2 separate regions of the Homo sapiens genome follow, and region 1 is linked to region 2. Evidence: promoter capture Hi-C in human tissues and cell types (Jung and others, 2019). All regions are on one chromosome and are shown on one strand. The core of a region is centred on a gene start or on the middle of the fragment in contact, and the rest is flanking DNA. Distances in the headings are between cores, read along the strand shown. Region 1 overlaps SEC24D (SEC24 homolog D, COPII component). Region 2 holds the start of USP53 (ubiquitin specific peptidase 53).

Region 1 (4,137 bases), core at 1,575-4,074, 430 kb before region 2:
GGTAGTTTGTATTTCTGTGGGATCGGTGGTGACATCCCTTTTATCATTTTTTATTGCATCTATTTGATTCTTCTCTCTTTTCTTCTTTATTAGTCTTGCTAGCGGTCTATCAATTTTGTTGATCTTTTCAAAAAACCAGCTCCTGGATTCATTGATTTTTTGAAGGGTGTTTCGTTTCTCTATCTCCTTCAGTTCTGCTCTGATGTTAGTTATTCCTTGCCTTCTGCTAGCTTTTGAATGTTTGCTCTTGCTTCTCTAGTTCTTTTAATTGTGATGTTAGGGTGTCGATTTTGGATCTTTCCTGCTTTCTCTTGTGGGCATTTAGTGCTATAAATTTCCCTCTACACACTGCTTTATATGTGTCCCAGAGATTCTGGCACATTGTGTCTTTGTTCTCATTGGTTTCAAAGAACATTGTTATTTCTGCCTTCATTTCGTTATGTACCCAGTAGTCACTCAGGAGCAGGATGTTCGGTTTCCATGTAGTTGTGCGGTTTTTAGTGAGTTTCTTAATCCTGAGTTCTAATTTGATTGCACTGTGGTCAGAGAGGCAGTTTGTTGTGATTTCTGTTCTTTTACATTTGCTGAGGAGTACTTTACTTCCAACTATGTGGTCAATTTTGGAATAAGCGTGATGTGGTACTGAGATGAATGTATATTCTGTTGATTTGGGGTGGAGGGTTCTGTAGATGTCTATCAGGTCTGCTTGGTGCAGAGCTGAGTTCAAGTCCTGGATATCCTTGTTAACCTTCTGTCTCATTGATCTGTCTAAAAAGTCTCCCATTATTATTGTGTGGGAGTCTAAGTCTCTTTTTAGGTGTCTAAGGACTTGCTTTATCAATCTGGGTGCTCCTGCATTGGATGCATATATATTTAGGATAGTTAGGTCTTCTTGTTGAATTGATCCCTTTACCATTATGCAATGGCCTTGTCCCTTTTGATCTTTGTTGTTTTAAAGTCTGTTTTATCAGAGACTAGGATTGCAACCCCTGCTTTTTTTTTTTTTTTTTTTTTTTTTGCTTTCCATTTGCTTGGTAGATCTTCCTCCATCCCTTTATTTTGAGCCTATGTGTGTCTCTGCATGTGAAATGGGTCTCCTGAATACAGCACACTGATGGGTCTTGACTCTTTATCTAATTTGCCAGTCTGTGTCTTTTAATTGTGTCATTTACATTTAAGGTTAATACTGTTATGTGTGAATTTCATCCTGACGTTATGATGTTAGCTGGTTATTTTGCCCGTTAGTTGATGCAGTTTCTTCCTAGCATTGACGGTCTTTACAATTTGGCATGTTTTTGCAGTGGCTGGTATCTGTTGTCCCTTTCCATGTTTAGTGCTTCCTTCAGGAGCTCTTTTAGGGCAGGCCTGGTGGTGACAAAATTTCTCAGCATTTGCTTGTCTGTAAAGTATTTTATTTCTCCTTCACTTATGAAGCTTAGTTTGGCTGGATATGAAATTCTGGGTTGAAAATTCTTTTCTTTAAGAATGTTGAATATTGGCCCCCACTCTCTTCTGGCTTGTAGAGTTTTTGCCTAGAGGTCCGCTGTTAGTCTGATGGGCTTCCCTTTGTGGGTAACCCGACCTTTCTCTCTGGCTGCCCTTAACATTTTTTCCTTCATTTCAGCCTTGGTGATTCTGGCAATTATGTGTCTTGGGGTTACTCTTCTCGAGGAGTATCTTTGTGGTGGTCTCTGTATTTCCTGAATTTGAATGTTAGCCTGTCTTGCTAGGTTGGGGAAGTTCTCCTGGATAATGTTCTGAAGAGTGTTTTCCAACTTGGTTCCATTCTCCATGTCATTTTCAGGTACACCAATCAAACACAGATTTGGTCTTTTCACATAGTCCCATATTTCTTGGAGGCTTTGTTCATTTCTTTTTACTCTTTTTTCTCCAAACTTCTCACTTTATTTCATTAATTTGATCTTCGATCACTGATACCCTTTCTTCCACTTGAAGGAATCGGCTACTGAAGCTTGTGCATGCGTCACGTAGTTTTCGCACCATGGTTTTCAGCTCCATCAGGTCATTTAAGGTCTTCTCTTCACTGTTTATTCTAGTTAGCCATTCGTCTAATGTTTTTTCAAGGTTTTTAGCTTCCTTGCGATGGGTTTGATCGTCTTCCTTTAGCTTGGAGAAGTTTGTTATTACTGACCTCCTAAAGCCTACTTCTGTCAATTCGTCAAAGTCATTCTCCATCTAGCTTTGTTCCATTGTTGGCAAGGAGCTGCAATCCTTTGAAGGAGAAGAGGCACTCTGATTTTTAGAATTTTCAGCTTTTCTGCTCTGGTTTCTCCCCATCTTTGTGGTTTTATCTACCTTTGGTCTTTGATGTTGGTGACCTACAAATGGGGTTTTGGTGTGGATGTCCTTTTTGTTGATGTTGATGCTATTCCTTTCTGTTTGTTAGTCTTCCTTCTAACAGGTCCCTCAGCAGCAGGGCTGTTGGAGTTTGCTGGAGGTCCACTCCAGACCCTGTTTGCCTGGGTATCACCAGCAGAGGCTCCAGAACAGCAAATATTGCAGAACAGCAAATATTGCTGCCTGATCCTTCCTCTGGAAGCTTCGTCCCAGGGGGCACCCACCTGTATGAGGTGTCAGTCAGTCCCAGTAGGTGTCTCCCCAGTTAGGCTACATGGGGGTCAGGGACCCACATGAGGAGGCAGTCTGTCCGTTCTCAGAGCTCAAACACCGTGCAGGGAGAACCACTACTCTCTTCAGAGCTGTCAGACAGGGATGTTTAAGTCTGCAGAAGTTTCTGCTGCCTTTTGTTCAGCTATGCCCTGGACCCAGAGGTGGAGTCAACAGAGGCAGCAGGCCTTGCTGAGCTGTGGTGGGCTCCGCCCAGTTTGAGCTTCCCTGGCTGGTTTGTTTACCTACTCAAGCCTCAGCAATGGGGTACAACCCTCCCCCCTGCCAGGCTGCTGCCTCACAGGTTGATCTCAGACTGCTGCACTAGCCGTGAGCAAGACTCCTTGGGTGTGGGACCCACCGAGTCAGGCATGGGATATAATCTCCTGGTGTACCATTTGCTAAGACCATTGGAAAAGCGCAGTATTTTGGTGGGGATGTTCCGTTTTCTCCAGGTACAGTCTGTCACGGCTTCCCTTGGCTAGGAAAGGGAAATCCCCTGACCCCTTGGGCTTCCCGGGTGAGGCGACGCCCCGCCCTGCTTTGGCTCACCCTCTGTGGGCTGCACCCACTGTCCAACCAGTCCTAATGAGATGAACCAGGTACCTCAGTTGGAAATGCAGAAATCACCCGTCTTCTGCGTCAATCACGCTCAGAGCTGCAGACGGGAGCTGTTCCTATTCGACCATCTTGGAACAGACCCCTGAGGGTCTGAATTTAAATGACACTTTCTCAATCAGGCCTGCCCTGAATACCCTATTTAACCTACAAAACCCATACTCCACCTCCTCCCAGGCAGACGTTATCCCCCAAGTCTGCTCTACTTTTTCCTTCCTCCATAGACCTAGATAACCTTCTTACCAGGTTCACTGTCTAGTCTCCATTAGAATGTAAGCTCCATGAGGGCAGAGATCTTTGTCTGCTCTGTTCACTGACATATCTCAAGTGCCAAGAACAGTATCCAGCACATACTGGGAGAACAATGAGTATTCATTGAATTGAATTGGTTATTCTTAAATTCTTTTTGAAATAAGGTGACATAAAGTTTTTCATAAAATGGTCATAGTTTATAAATTATCATATCAAATAACAATGGATTATTGTCCAGATTATGGTATATGAGATGACTGAAAACATCACTAAAATCCCAGGAGTGATTATACAAGTATAAATACAAGTATAAAACTGTTTCTGTAAAGAAGCTTAAGAGAACTCAAACCAAATGATCAATTCCCTTTAGAGTAGACACCTATGGAAGCTATGCATTTGTCCAAATATGTCTAAAACTTTTTCTACAAATTCCTTTCAGAGTGGAAAAAAATATAGGGCTCTAAAGGTCACACAGTTCAATCTGCTATTGACGTAAACACTGAAGACTGGCCAGGCATAGTGGTTCATGCCTGTAATACGAGCAATTTGGGAGGCTGAGGCGGGCAGATCACTTGAGCTCAGGAGATCAAGACCAGCCTGGCCAACATGGCGAAACCTTGTCTCTATTTAAACAGAAGA
Region 2 (4,471 bases), core at 1,972-4,471:
TCCAAGCTGAAGTTCATATTTGATCTCCCACAGAAGCCCTCTCCAACTTTAGCCCACACAGATGACTCTATTCAAAAAAATCAACAAAACTTCCAATTTTTACTCCATCCAATAAACACTGCTTGTTAAGCATCTGTGCTAGGCACTGTGCTATGCCTTGGAAACATGAAAAAACAGAGAGCTTAGGTAGTAAGGAAATTCACTTGTCAGTCCTTATGGATGCATTTAGGAAAAAAAGGATTCTGTCTAGTATCTAACCCTGAGTCAGTCATTGATCTACTACTTCCCTATGCTATATTTCACTCTACCCCACCCAGCTCAGTCATGGTTAAGCTGTTGATTACCTCCTGGAACTACTGGGTTACAGCTCCGCAGGACACAATGTTGCTATTCCTACCAGACATTAGTGGCAGGGTGCATCTAGCCACAGGGTAGCACATTTCTCAAAGTCTGAGTTATAATCAATCCAGAATAACACTAAGAGGTGTGTATATGTGCTGGTGGTGTGAACTTTGGCTAAGCCTCAGCTGAATGATCTAGGGTATTCTTTGGCATGCCAAGCCTGCTCCCTTTCATGATCTCTTTGCCTGTGTGAGGTGCAGAGATTGGTCTTCACAAATTTGGGTCCAGCCAATCAGAAACTAGGGAATCAAACCCACACACGTCCCTCAAGGACAAATAGTAAGAATTAAAATATTTTAAATCCTTGTTGTGACTTTCCCAATTACAAATTTTCTGGGAGCAACAGCTGTCCTGCAATGTCAATTTTCCATTTTTTCATGTTTGCTTCAGACTCTGCCCTCTTGATGCTTAAATTGGGTCCTATTACAACTCTACCATTTAAGGATCGGTACATAGATATGCTAAAAACTGGTAGAAAGTATGAAATTATATAATTTTAAAAGTGTATAGTCAGGGTTTAGTCAAATTCTTGAGCAGGGTGAACTGAAGGGTATTCTTCTGTAATTGCTAAATAAGGAAGGGAGGTAGTATAAGCCATTATTATCCACAGTTCAAATTATTTCTCAAGGGTGGAGGTGGGGGTTACTCTGTCAGGTACATTTGCAGAGAAATAAATATAGTACAACATAATTGTTATAAAAATAAGTCCCAAAAGGGATGACAATTTTGTCTCAGAAAGTTATGAAAAGATCCATGGAGATAAGCATTCGAGAGAGAACCAAAGGATCTTGAGAGAACCAAGAACATAGAAAGCAAGGACTTTAGAAAGATTAATGTGGAGGAACTGGAGGAAGAATGGCGATGAGTTTAACAGTGTGATCATGAAAGGCCCTGCCGGTGGGTAATGAAAAATTCTTAGCAGAGAAGTATAATGATCGTATTTTCACGTTAGAAAAATTATTAATAGAATGGAGGTTGGACTGGTGTGGGAAATAACTAGAGGATATCTTGTGAATATTGCAATAGTACAAGGAAGATGAGTCATAAGAGATGGTGATTACTTGAAGGACTAAGACAGTGAGAGTGGAGGGGTGGACCTGAGAGATACTTAAGGAAATAAGAGTCAAAATTTGATATTAGAAAAGAGGAAATGAAGGAAAAGTAACAGGGGTACTCATAGATTTCTGACTTGGGCAGTTGCGTGTCATTTTCTGAAACAGGGAATGGAAATGGTGTAGGTTCCAGATGGGTGAAGAGGGACATGGCATCAGGAACAGATTATAGTAAAGATGTCCATGTCAATTTGGGACATATTTAAGATACTGTGTGAAATCCAAAGGATGTTGCTTAAAAATGTCCGACGTATAGATATACACCTGAGAGTTCTTGGTGCACAGGACACGTGGTAGGTAAATCCATGATGGGAAAGAGACTGCTCAAGGAGACATGGATTAACATTAAACAGAAACAGCAAAAGAAAATGGAGTGCTGGCGAACAGAGACCACGCAGCGGAAAAACAGTATTTAAAGTGCACCAGAAAAGTAGCTGCAGAATGAGGAGAAAATGACATTAGAGAAACGGAGGGAAGAGTTAATGGTGTGCTCTTATTGTTTTAAAAATGCAGAGTAGGATCTTTTTTTCCCCCACCCCTCCCAAAGTTTTTAATATTTTGAGGGCAGAAACCACGGCTTTATTTCATCCTATTTCTGACAGTGCCTAGTTCAGTAAAGGGAACATAGTAAATGCTCAATAAATTCTTAATGATTCAGCCTCAGACATTACAAACGGGTCCTATTTGTCTCCTGTATCAACGACCAATATTTCTTCCCCCTCTTTCTTCAAATAAACTTTTAGAAGTGCCTCTGGGTTTACTGAAATCCATTTTTACAATTAGTATGTTCAACTTACACCAGCTTTGGAATGAGTTCCAAAACCTTCTTTATTTACTTGAGAGATATTCGGTATCAGTGACGATGGGTTTTTCCTTTACTACTATTCCTAAGAAAGGTTTATTCAAAATCAAAGTTTAGCCCAATTCCCAGCAGTACCTTTTAACTTAAAACCTGTTCGAAAGCACGGCAAAGAGGCGGACAGACTTTTCTGACAATCATTAACCAGGTCAACAGACTTATTAAAGCTATCTAATTAAAGGCAAGAAACAACTGCTTGGGGAATACACATTCACGCCACAGGAAGCCATTTAACTGCAAATAGATCGTCTAACGACTCACGGAAATCTAAAGGAAACTGCGTGTCCGCATGGGGTTCTGATGCCAAACTACGGATTGTTCTCTCAGGTAACACCTAACCTAAGTGAAGTCCTTGGTGGATCCGCGTTCTTGAGCTTAGAAAATACCGAATGAACTACCAAGAGCACCAGAATAATCGCCTCCTCCTGAAGAACTAGCCTCTTTCTCACCACACCAGACAGCACGTCCTACAACCACCTTTCCCCCAACAACCAAACTCCAGCGCCAAGCTGCCGCTTTTGCAGAAATGTTCTATCTCTTGGTCTCGCGCGATCTCGCGCCTCCGAGGAAGCCAACTGTATCGCGCACGCCATCAAATCCCCGCGGGAATAGAATTCCGCAGGTCCAGAAAGCCGGGAAATCGCGAGCGGAGGCGGAGTTACCTCGGTGAGCGTGAAGGCGGAGCCCGCTCCGAGGGGCGGGCTCGAGGCGGGGAGAGGGGCGGGGCTCCAGGGACCTGTTGATCGCAGGTGTCACTGGCCTGACTGGTCCCTGGGTATTGGGGCGTATGCGCATGCTCCGCTCACAGGGTCGGGCTCTGGGCGGCGGAGACCAGCCGCCTGTGCTCCAGTTCCCGGTGAGCCTCGGTACTGTGGCAGCAGTCAGTGTGTCTGGCGGGTGTCGGCGTGAAGCGGGGCTGGGCCAGCGGGAGGTAGCTCTGTGGGAGTGGAAGGCCTGTATTTCTCTACCTGGACCGCACGCTCCTCGCGCAAGGAGGGTAGAGCTCAAGGTAAGTCTCCGAAACTAGCCCTCTGGTTGGAGATCCAGAGACCTGCGACCCCCGCGGGCCTGACCGGGACACTCTCATTCTAGCCCCAGAGCTCGTCTCTCCCCTCGCAGCCCGGCGACCTCCTATGGCCCCGGCCCTCTGGGCACACACACACTCTCTTTGCTGGGCGGTTCAGACGCCAGAGGTCACGCAGCCCTTTCGCCCCTTCTCGCCGCGTCTGGCGGAGATGCCTCTGGCCAGGCTGGAGGCGCTCGCGAGGCGGGAGGAGGTGCTGTACTTGTTGGGTCCTGGATGTTATTGCTGCCGTGTTTGAGGGCGGCGACAAGCTGGAGTCCTGCTGGGATTGTGAGTAATACCCTTACTTGGCTCCTGCCCCTGGCTGTCCAAGCCACATTGCCTCGCCTGAGCACACAGTTTTTTACTTAAAGGGGTCCAGGATGGTTATGCTCCCTCCTTGGAGAAGAGAGATGACTGGACTCGTGAGATTCTTGGGGTGGTGGTTTCTCAGTGGTAGTGGTGATGTATATAAAGTTAATGTTTAGCTTCTAAAGGGCGGCTTACGGGGCATTTACCAAACTATTTTTAAACAGTGTTGGAGAACAGGAAGTACTTGCACAGGTGTAATAGGGAGGGTTTCTAAAACCTGCAATCTGAGGATGTTTTGAGGTTTGTAACCCTGCTACAAGGTTTTCTTTATCAATGCAAAGTATGCAGGGAATTACCAGTTGGACAGCAAAGTTTTCCGAAAGTTTCCTTATCTGGAAATAGATATATATATATATATATATGTGTGTGTGTGTATGTATGTATGTATAAATATATATATTTGCAAAGAATATCTAAGGCTATTTTTGAGGTAGGTTTAATAGTAAACTTAACCTGTAGTCCCAGCTACTCGGGAGGCTGAGGCAGGAGAATTGCTTGAACCGGAGGTTGCAGTGAGCCGAGATCGCGCCACTGCATTCCAGCAGGGGCGACAGAGCCAGACTCCGTCTCCAAAAAACAAACAAACAAACAAAAAAACGCAGTACACTTAGGAAGGTTTTTGTGATTAAGATCTGATTCACTTTTAGTTATTAAAAGAAAAGG

What was found. The method cuts DNA at HindIII sites, captures the fragments that hold promoters and counts their contacts. A contact is called where the count stands out against the background at its distance.
Region 1: a fragment that was not itself captured here is called in contact with the fragment with the promoter of USP53 in region 2 in 1 of the 25 tissues and cell types used here (aorta).

Annotation. Positions count from the first base shown.
Region 1 is chr4:118,779,915-118,784,051 of GRCh38, forward strand. All of the region lies in intron 8 of SEC24D (SEC24 homolog D, COPII component), which reads right to left. Among named protein-coding and RNA genes, the nearest start is that of SEC24D, 54 kb to the right of the region's middle. The HindIII fragment of the contact is 4,654 bases long and covers 498-4,137 here.
Region 2 is chr4:119,209,492-119,213,962 of GRCh38, forward strand. USP53 (ubiquitin specific peptidase 53) reads left to right here and starts at 3,222. Exons shown (of 19, transcript NM_001371395.1): 1 at 3,222-3,382. It overlaps LOC101929762 (a long non-coding RNA gene), which reads right to left and starts at 3,153. Exons shown (of 3, transcript NR_125931.1): 1 at 3,036-3,153. RefSeq lists enhancers at 1-984, 2,140-2,714, 2,837-2,956, 3,288-3,861, 3,567-3,616 and a silencer at 3,087-3,216. The HindIII fragment of the contact is 17,898 bases long and covers 1-4,471 here.